Regions from separate parts of the Homo sapiens genome. Here all the other regions are linked to region 2. The links are contacts of gene promoters, found by promoter capture Hi-C in blood cells and fetal thymus (Javierre and others, 2016). All regions are on one chromosome and are shown on one strand. Each heading gives the region's core, a stretch centred on a gene start or on the middle of the fragment in contact. The rest is flanking DNA. Distances are from core to core; before and after follow the strand shown. Region 1 has its middle 12 kb from the start of SNX12. Region 2 holds the start of ITGB1BP2 (integrin subunit beta 1 binding protein 2). Region 3 overlaps OGT (O-linked N-acetylglucosamine (GlcNAc) transferase).

What was found. The method cuts DNA at HindIII sites, captures the fragments that hold promoters and counts their contacts. A CHiCAGO score of 5 or more calls a contact.
Region 1: a fragment that was not itself captured here is called in contact with the fragment with the promoter of ITGB1BP2 in region 2 in 2 of 17 cell types (non-activated CD4 T cells and naive CD4 T cells); the score reaches 5.7 in non-activated CD4 T cells.
Region 3: a fragment that was not itself captured here is called in contact with the fragment with the promoter of ITGB1BP2 in region 2 in 1 of 17 cell types (fetal thymus); the score reaches 5.9 in fetal thymus.

Annotation. Positions count from the first base shown.
Region 1 is chrX:71,054,380-71,057,517 of GRCh38, forward strand. No RefSeq gene overlaps it. Among named protein-coding and RNA genes, the nearest start is that of SNX12, 12 kb to the right of the region's middle. The HindIII fragment of the contact is 5,418 bases long and covers 1-3,138 here.
Region 2 is chrX:71,300,500-71,303,423 of GRCh38, forward strand. It overlaps ITGB1BP2 (integrin subunit beta 1 binding protein 2), which reads left to right and starts at 1,251. Exons shown (of 11, transcript NM_012278.4): 1 at 1,251-1,371; 2 at 1,638-1,687; 3 at 1,778-1,834; 4 at 1,912-2,057; 5 at 2,763-2,857. The coding sequence starts at 1,308. It overlaps NONO (non-POU domain containing octamer binding), which reads left to right. Exons shown (of 12, transcript NM_007363.5): 12 at 1-669. The HindIII fragment of the contact is 1,925 bases long and covers 18-1,942 here.
Region 3 is chrX:71,548,943-71,551,858 of GRCh38, forward strand. The region is part of intron 5 of OGT (O-linked N-acetylglucosamine (GlcNAc) transferase); the gene reads left to right. Among named protein-coding and RNA genes, the nearest start is that of OGT, 17 kb to the left of the region's middle. The HindIII fragment of the contact is 817 bases long and covers 964-1,780 here.

The DNA.
Region 1 (3,138 bases), core at 625-3,124, 250 kb before region 2:
GGAGTTCGAGACCAACTTGGGCAACAAAGTGAGACCACCCCCCTCCCCCATCTCTACACACACACACACACACACACACACACACACACACACACAGTAAAAGACACACACACAGTAAAAGGCACACACCTTTTGACCCAGCAATTCCTTCTCTCAAAATCTATCCTACAGAAATACTTACACACTGGAGCAAGGTTATATGTAGCATTATTTATAATAGTGAATGATTGGAGACAAATTTGCATCAATAGGTGAATCATTAAATTGTGATACAACCATACCATGAAATGTTATGCAGTCATTTTTTAAATGAGGTAAATTTCCATGTATTAATGCAAGAGGAGGTCCAGAATACAATGCAAAGTGAAAAAAGTTGCAAAACAGTACATATAATATCCCATTTCATTTAAAAAAAACCTATATACAAATGTGTGGGTATTCATATATGTATATATGTGTATATTAATATATAAACACAAACAGAACAACATCTGGGAAGACACACACCAAATTAAGTTATTCTTGGAGAATGGGAGTGGTGAGAGGGACTAAGGAAAAATCTTTCACTTTTTACTTTACACATTTATGTTTTGCTTGAATTTTGTTGGCTAACATTAATAATTTTTGAATTTTTATCACAATAAAACATTTTAACAAAATAGGCACTTTTGTAATCAGATCAATAGAGTTATAATGTATGTGTTTTAAATAAAAATAGCTCCATGGGGGCTGGGCGTAGTGGCTCACACCTGTAATCAATCCCAGCACTTTGGGAGGTCGAGGTGGGCAGATCATACGGTCAGGAGTTTGAGACCAGCCTGGCCAATATGGTGAAACCCCGCTTCTACTAAAAATACAAAAATTAGCCGGGCGTGGTGGCATGCCCCTGTAGTCCCAGCTACTCTGGAGGCTGAGGCAGGAGAATCGCTTGAACCTGGGAGGCACAGGTTGCAGTGAGCCAAGATCACACCACTGCACTCTGGCCTGAGCGACAGAGCAAGATTCCCTCTCAAAAAATAAATAAATAACGCCATGGGGTGACTACTTCATTTTAAAATTTTAGCTAGAAGACTTAGGATACAATTAGAACAACTGTAAACCAAATCAACTCTGAGTTTCAATGGGGGTATACTCATGACTTGATATAACAGGATGTGGGCAAACAAAATCTAATCAGGATAATCGTTCATTTCTGAAAGAGAAAACTACACTACAGCAAACTCCATCATATAAAGGAAAAATTGTGCTTTCACTTTTTTGGTGGCATCACCTCCAATGTTTACTCAACTCCTTGGCAAGGGTGGGAAATCATAAAAAGCTAGAGATTTAAGATACCTCAGAGATCATTTGGTCAAAATCCCTCATTTAGTCGAAATCCCTCATTGTATAGTTCAGAAAACAGGCCTAAAATGGTGAAGCAATTCAACTAAGGTCCTATAGCTAGCTATATAGCCAATTTTAGAAGTCAGGTTTCTATTCCAGGTCTGGTACTCTTTCTGTTTCTTTTCAGATCTTCCTGAGTCTTCAGTATGATGAAATTATGAAATATTTTTAAATTTTATGATTAGACATCCCTATATTTAAATGTTACAACAAAAATGCCTAACAAAATTAAAATGTACATGCCTCCATTAGTACAGATGATGAAAAGTTCACTGTATCTAGACAAAAAATATTATTGGTATAACATTCTCTTGAAAAGTAATACATAAATCAGGCCAGGTACAGTGGCTTACGCCTGTAATCCCAGCACTTTGGGAGGCCGAGGCAGGCAGATCACTTGAGCTCAGGAGTTCGAAACCAGCCTGGCCAACGTGGTGAAACCCCGTCTCTACTAAAAATACAAAAATTAGCCGGGTATGGTGGTGCCACGCTTGTAGTCCCAGCTACTCGGGAAGCTGAGGCAGGAGGATCGCTTGAACCTGGGAGGCAGAGATTGCAGTGAGCTGAGATCACGCCACTGCACTCCAGCCTGGACAACACTGTGAGACTCCATCTCAAAAAATATATATATACATATTTTTTTTCTGTGAATCTGAATGTATTTTACTGTTTACCTAAGAACTACTGTTTTATCCCAATTTCTAACTGTTCTTCAACTGGCACTGCCTCTTAACCCTTTATCTTTAGTTTCTTTATATCAAGCAGTTGATGACCTATATAAAAACACTTAAAACCACCACAGGAAACACCTATTTAAAGGAAGCCTGCAGTGATTTAAAGAATTCTTTTTTGATGTTGACAATTATCCCTGGTTTGTCTGTTTTATAAGGAATGAGTTCTCTGTTTTTAAATGCATAGACAGACAGGGTATGGACAGAAGAAATAAAATAGGCAACAACTGGTTTTTGTACAAACAAGGTAAAAAAAGAAGATAAGAATGAGGGGTGGTGGGTGGTCAGGAAGGGAGTGGCAGAGAACCACATGCTAAATTAGTCACTAAGACTTTATATTTCAAAAGTAAACTCAAATACTAAGATATATAAATGGAATAACAACTACCTAACCTTCAGGCTGTAATTAAAGTGTTGTCCAATTTAAGACTCTACAACTTGAGGACATGTGAGGGCCTTGGAGAGATTTCAGAATAATAAAAAGATAAAAGGGTTAAAAATGAGCCAAGTAAGGAAAAATTAGAACTTATTATATCTAAGAAGAGAATACTAAGGGTGACTCAACAGTTTTCAAGGATATGAAGAAATATCCATTTCAGTGAGCAGCTGTTCTACATTTCCACAAAAGAAAGTAATTTTACTTAAATTATTACAGCATATATTTCAACATAGAAGTAGGAATATCTTCAACATAGAAGTATCTCATGTAGGATAACTATCAACTCCAGAGAAGCCTGAATGTTATCCACCTCTCCCACCTTTACTGGCTTAATTCCTTGTCTCAAAGAATGGGTCAAAGGGTAGATAAGGCATCTTTGGAATGTGAAGATTTAGACTTCTTTTGGGTCTAGCTATGTTCAAAATTTTTCGTTAGCCTCTGTCCCCCAGGTTCCAGCATAAGGTTAAGCCCTTTCTGCACTATAGATAAAGGGGATTAATTAGTGGTAAACATGCAAATACCCATGTAAATTAGAATTCCTTATCAAAGAAAAGTATGCTTCTCCTCAGTGTTAATGGGTAAGAG
Region 2 (2,924 bases), core at 1-2,500:
TCTGCCTCCCGGGTTCAAGCTTGTCCAGGTTGATCTTGAACTCCTGACCTCGTGATCTACCCACCTCGGCCTCCCAAAATGCTGGGATTACAGGGGTGAGCCACCGTGCCCAACCTCACTTGCTTCTTATCCTTACACTCCCCCAGCCCCAGAGAAACTGCCACATACACCACAAAAACCAAACATCCCCCAATGACCTTAGCCCCATTGCTCCATTCACTCCCAGGTGAGAATTCAGGCAAACGTCCACAAAGGTCACAGGCAGCGTACATACGGTTCTGTTATACCCCATATATTACCCCTTCATGTCCTAAAGAAGACATTTTCTCTTAGAGATTTTCATTTTAGTGTATCTTTAAAAAAAAATCTTGTGTTAACTTGCCTCCATCTTTTTCTTGGGTGAGGACACCCAGGAATGACCCTTTTGTGTCTATGATGTTGCTGTTCACAGCTTTTCTTGATAGGCCTAGTACAATCTTGGGAACAGGGTTACTGTATACTGAAGGTCTGACAGTAGCTCTTAGACTCGCCTATCTTAGGTAGTCATGCTGTGCATTTTTTTTTTCATTGGTGTACTGTGTTTGATTTGTCTCATATATTTGGAGTTTTTCTGAAAAATGGAGCAGTAATGCAGCATCAACCTATTAAAATACATTTTAAGCCTTTTAATTTTCTGTGGTGTTTTTGAAGGGGAAAGGAGGGAGGGGAGTTATCTTAGGAGATGAGCAGTAGACTCTATAAAGGTAATCCTTTATGACCTTTGGATTACAGTATTGATCTAGACAAACATGGGGAGGAGGTGGGGATGAGGTGCATCAAATGGCTGGAGGGGTTGGCAAGGATTAGCGCTATTGATACTACATGGAAGTAATGATGGAGGAAAGCTGCCCCTCTGAAAGAGGAAGAAAATGGGCTTAATCCTCATCGAGCTGGGGGCGCGGGGGGGGTCTCAAAATTGGTATTTGTTTCTTAGCAGCTGCTGCTGTGTCCAAGGCTTGGAATTGCTGTGGTGAATCTAAAACTGTCTCAGTAGTGGTGAGCTGACCTCACCCAAGTTCAAAGCCCTACTCTGCCTGATCCTTTTTTCCTGAGCCTCAGAGCTAAAATGCCCCCGAGCTCTTTCCTATTGGCTGGAAAGACGAATTGAAGTTCCCTTGCCCATGTTAGGAGGTGTACGCCTCCTGAACTAAAGATAGAAACAGCTGGCCCTTCCAGGCAGCTAAAAGCCTCCAGACTAAGAGGTGTTCCCCATTCGGCAGCCAGACTCCTTGAAATACCCTTTCAGTAATCATTCAACCAACGCTTCCATGTCTCTACTCTGTCGTAACAAAGGCTGTGGGCAGCACTTTGACCCTAATACCAACCTTCCTGGTGAGTAAAGAATCCTGACCTGGCCAGGGGCTCTGTGTGGGTGTTGGGGACTGGTCAGCTGGGGGGCAGTGTGTTTGAGGAGCGGGGAAAGAAACTACCTGCCCTAGTTTAATTGGTCTGAGTGATCTTACAGCCTTTGCTGGCTTTTTTTTTTTTCTTCACATTATATGGGAAGAAACCATAAATAGAAACCCGGGGAAGAGGTGAAAAATGATACTTGGTATAGTTATCTTCCCTTCCTTGATAACTTCTACTGATGTCCACAGATTCCTGTTGCCATCACCCTGGGGTCCCAATCTTCCATGATGCACTTAAGGTGAGGAGTAGGTGAGGGGGGTTAGCAAGAGCATTTCCCAGAAGAGATAATACCCAGGAAGCTAAGCTGATCTGGGTCTCTTGTTATCAGGGTTGGTCCTGCTGCCGAAAGCGAACTGTAGATTTCTCTGAGTTCTTAAACATCAAGGTAAATTATTTATGTACTTGGATTCTGCCCCCAATAGAAGGATTCTATCCCTAATCCTATCTCCTTATCTATACTAGGGCTGTACTATGGGACCACACTGTGCTGAGAAGCTTCCTGAGGCCCCTCAACCTGAAGGCCCTGCTACAAGCAGTTCACTTCAGGAGCAAAAACCTCTGAATGTGATTCCAAAGTCAGCAGAGACCTTGCGCCGGGAGAGGCCCAAGTAAAGAGGAGGAGGCCCCTGGACTTTTCTTATTTTCATGTAGCTTCCTAGGAGTGATTAATGGGTCATTGAGGACTGGGAACTAGGGACCAGGGATGTGAGGAGGGCCAGATGTCAGGGTTTGGATGGTGTATATCCTGTGCCTTAGGGGAAATTTGTGTCTGGAAATAACGCCCTTTCCTCTAAGGTGGTGTGGGATGATGGGATAGATACCTGAATCAACAGAGTAGATAGCCCCTCACAAATACATCCTTAGTGTATAACACAAAAGGGATTGTTGAGAATGACTTCTCTTTCTAGAAAAGAACTTTAAGATAAATCTCATATCAAGAAAAGGATGTATTGTATTATTGGCAGCCAGGAGACTTCCCAAATTTTGTGGGAATAATAAGAGCAACAGAAGGAAGTCATATTAGGTCCACGATTAGATAAAGAGGAAGAGGATATGACTCAGTTCTGCAGAGAAAAGTGGTTAGGTTTAGAGCAACTGAGTAGATGGGTAAGAGAAGTGCTGGGGATTTCTCTAGGGTTCAGGTATTTGGGATGTCCACAGAGATGAAAATTGGCAATGGGGTTGCTACCCAACCTCTCCAACTCTGCCTCACTTTCACCAGGCTTCTTTAATTCCATTACCATCGGTGGGAGTGTTGGAGCTAGCAATCATAGCTAATGGGTCAGAACTAAATCACCACCCTTAACCCCTAGGTCAGAGTTGCCTCTGAAGCTGCTGCCGCTAAATATATCCCAAGCCCTGGAAATGGCATTGGAACAGAAGGAATTAGACCAGGAACCTGGGGCAGGTAGGTGGGTCTTTAGTAGGATCAACTTCATAGACTGGAATTTAGTGGAAGTGGCAATTGAGTGGGG
Region 3 (2,916 bases), core at 122-2,621, 250 kb after region 2:
TAAAAAAGGGCTTTGTATTAGGTAATTTTACCTAAACGTAGGCTAATGTGTTCTGAGCATGTTTAAAATGAGACTAGCCGGGCCAGGTGTGATAGCTCACATCTGTGATCCCAGTGCTTTGGGAGGCCGAGGCGGGCAGATTGCTTGAGCTTAGGAGTTGAAAACCAGCCTGGACAACATAACGAGACCCTGTCTCTACAAAAATGAGCTGGGTGTGGCAGTGTGCTCCTGTAGTCCCAGCCATTTGTAGGGCTGAGGTGGGAGGATTGCTTGGGCCTGGGAGCTGGAGGTTGCAGTGAACCAAGATTGCACCACTGCACTCCAGCCTGGGTGACAAAGTGAGGCCCTGTCTCAAAAAAAAAAAAAAAAAAAAAAAAAAAATTAGGCTAAGCTAGGATGTTCACTAAGTGTTACAGATGCATTTTGACTTAAGATATTTTCAACTTATGATGGGTGTATCGGGACATAACCCCATCCTAAGTTGAGAAACATCTTTATTGCAGCATTTGCTGGATAGTACATGGTATGGCAGTTTCCAATTTTGTGTTGAAAATGTACTTTAGGCTGCGTGCTGTGGCTCACACCTGTAATCCAGCACTTTGCGAGGCTGAGGTGGGAGGATTGCTTGAGCCTAGTAGTTTGAGACCAGCCTGGGCAACATAGTAAGACCCTGTCTCTACAAAAAATACAAAAAGTAGCTATGCGTGGTGACACACACACAGCTACTGGGGAGGCTGAGATGGGAGTTTGAGTCTGCAGTGAGCTGTGATCATGCAACTGCACTCCAGCCTGGGTGATGGTGTGAGACCCTGTCTCAAAAAAAATGTACTTTAGTAATTAAAAATGATTTTTATAAATGGGCTTTAAAGAAGCAGGGCTTCTTGGTGAAAAGGCAGATTCCAGGTCTGGGGCAGGAATTTAAAAAAAATTTTTGGAATGTCTTGTCATACCAGAAAGCAAGGAAGCTTTGACATATTACTTTGCATCAAAAGGACTCAGGAAGCAACTTGAGGAGGCTCCCACTGGCTAAAGATGCAGACTTGAGCATCAATAGGAATAATAACTGAAATATACTAAAACTTATCAAGTATGTTTAAATCTATGAGCTTATAATTATGCTAAAAAATTCATTGGTCATCTTTGGAAGACTTACAAGGAACAATTAATTTGGAAAACTGGTTAAAAAGAGAAGAATAAAGTTTTTGAGGAACCTCTATACTAGTTCCCAAAATGGCTGTGCCAATTTATACTTCCCCCATCAGTTACAAGGCTTCCCTTTCTTTACATCCTCACTAACACTTGTTATTATTCGTCCTTTTGATGATAGCTATACTAACAAGTGTGAGATGCTAACTCATGGTTTTATTTTGCATTTCCTTGATGATTAGTGATGTTGAGCATATTTTTTATATATCTGCTTGCCATTTGTTTTTTTTGTTTTGTTTTGTTTTGTTTTTTTGAGATGAGGTCCTGCTCTGTTGCCCAGGCTGGAGTGCAGTGGCGCCATAATAGCTCACTGCAACCTCGAACTCCTGGGCTCAAGTGATCCTCCCACCTTGGTCTCCCCAAGTGATAGGATTACAGACATGAGCCACTGTGTCTGGCCTGTACCTCTTCTTTTGAGAAATGTCTGTTTAGATCCTTTGCCCGTATTTTAATGGGCGTATTTGCTACTGAGTTGAGCTTCTTAACCCTTTATCAGTTGTATAGTTTGCAAATGCTTTCTCCTAATCCGGGGTTGCCTATTCACTCTGTGTAATTGTTTCCTTTACTGTGCAGAAGCTTTTTAGTTTGATGCAATCTCATTGCATATTTTTGCTTTTGTTATCTGTGCTTTATGCTAAGTGAAATAAACCAGGCACAGAAAGTAGATACTGTATTATGTCACCTATTTGTGGAATCTAAAAAAGTTGATTTCATAGAAACAGAGAGTAGAAGGGTGGTGAGGCTTGGGGGGGTGGAGGAGGGATGGGGAAAAGGGAGATATTGATCAAAGTTTCAGTTAGACTGGAGGAATAAGTTTTAGTGATCTGTAGTACTGCATGGTGACCACAGTTGTTAATAATGTATATTTCAAAATTGCAAAAAGAATAGGTTTTTAATGTCCTCAACCACAAAAAAATAAGTTAGTGAGGTGATGGCTATGTTAATTAGCTTGGTTGACTCTTTCTAAAATGTATACGTGGATCAAACCATCACATTGTATGCCATAAATATACACAATTATATATCAACTTTAAATTTAAAAATTAAAAGAATAAAGCATATGTCTTCCCTCTCCTGTATGAACTAGACCATAGAGTAACCCAATAGTTGATGGGGGAAGCTTTTCTTTATAAAAGCATTCTAGCTAATAAGTGAAGAAGGAATGATAGAATATCACCATTAATAGTGAAAGCATTTATTAGGCCGGGCTTGGTGGCTCACGCCTGTAATCCCAGCACTTCGGGAGGCCATGGCAGGTGGATCACCTGAGGTCAGGAGTTCGAGACCAGCCTGGCCAACATGGCAAAACCCCATCTCTACTAAAAATACAAAAATTAGCCAGGCATGGTAGCAGGAGCCTGTAATCCCAGCTACTCAGGAGGCGGAGGCAGGAGAATCTCTTGAACCTGGGAGGTGGAGGTTGCAGTGAGCTGAGATTGCACCATTGCATTCCAGCCTGGGCGACAGAGCAAGACTCCATCTCAAAAAATAAAAAAAAAGTTAAAGCATTTATCAGTGACAAAAACGAGATACAATCAGGTATTAAGTACCTTGTGGTAAACAATTTCACCAGTGAAGTAGTCTTGCACAAAGAGAAAAGAACACAAACCTAATTAAGCTTCTGGTTCTACCTACCAATTTACAGGAGATATACACGGGACAGGAAACATGTTAAAGGACACCATAGGGATGCAGTCAGCAAAATTCAAA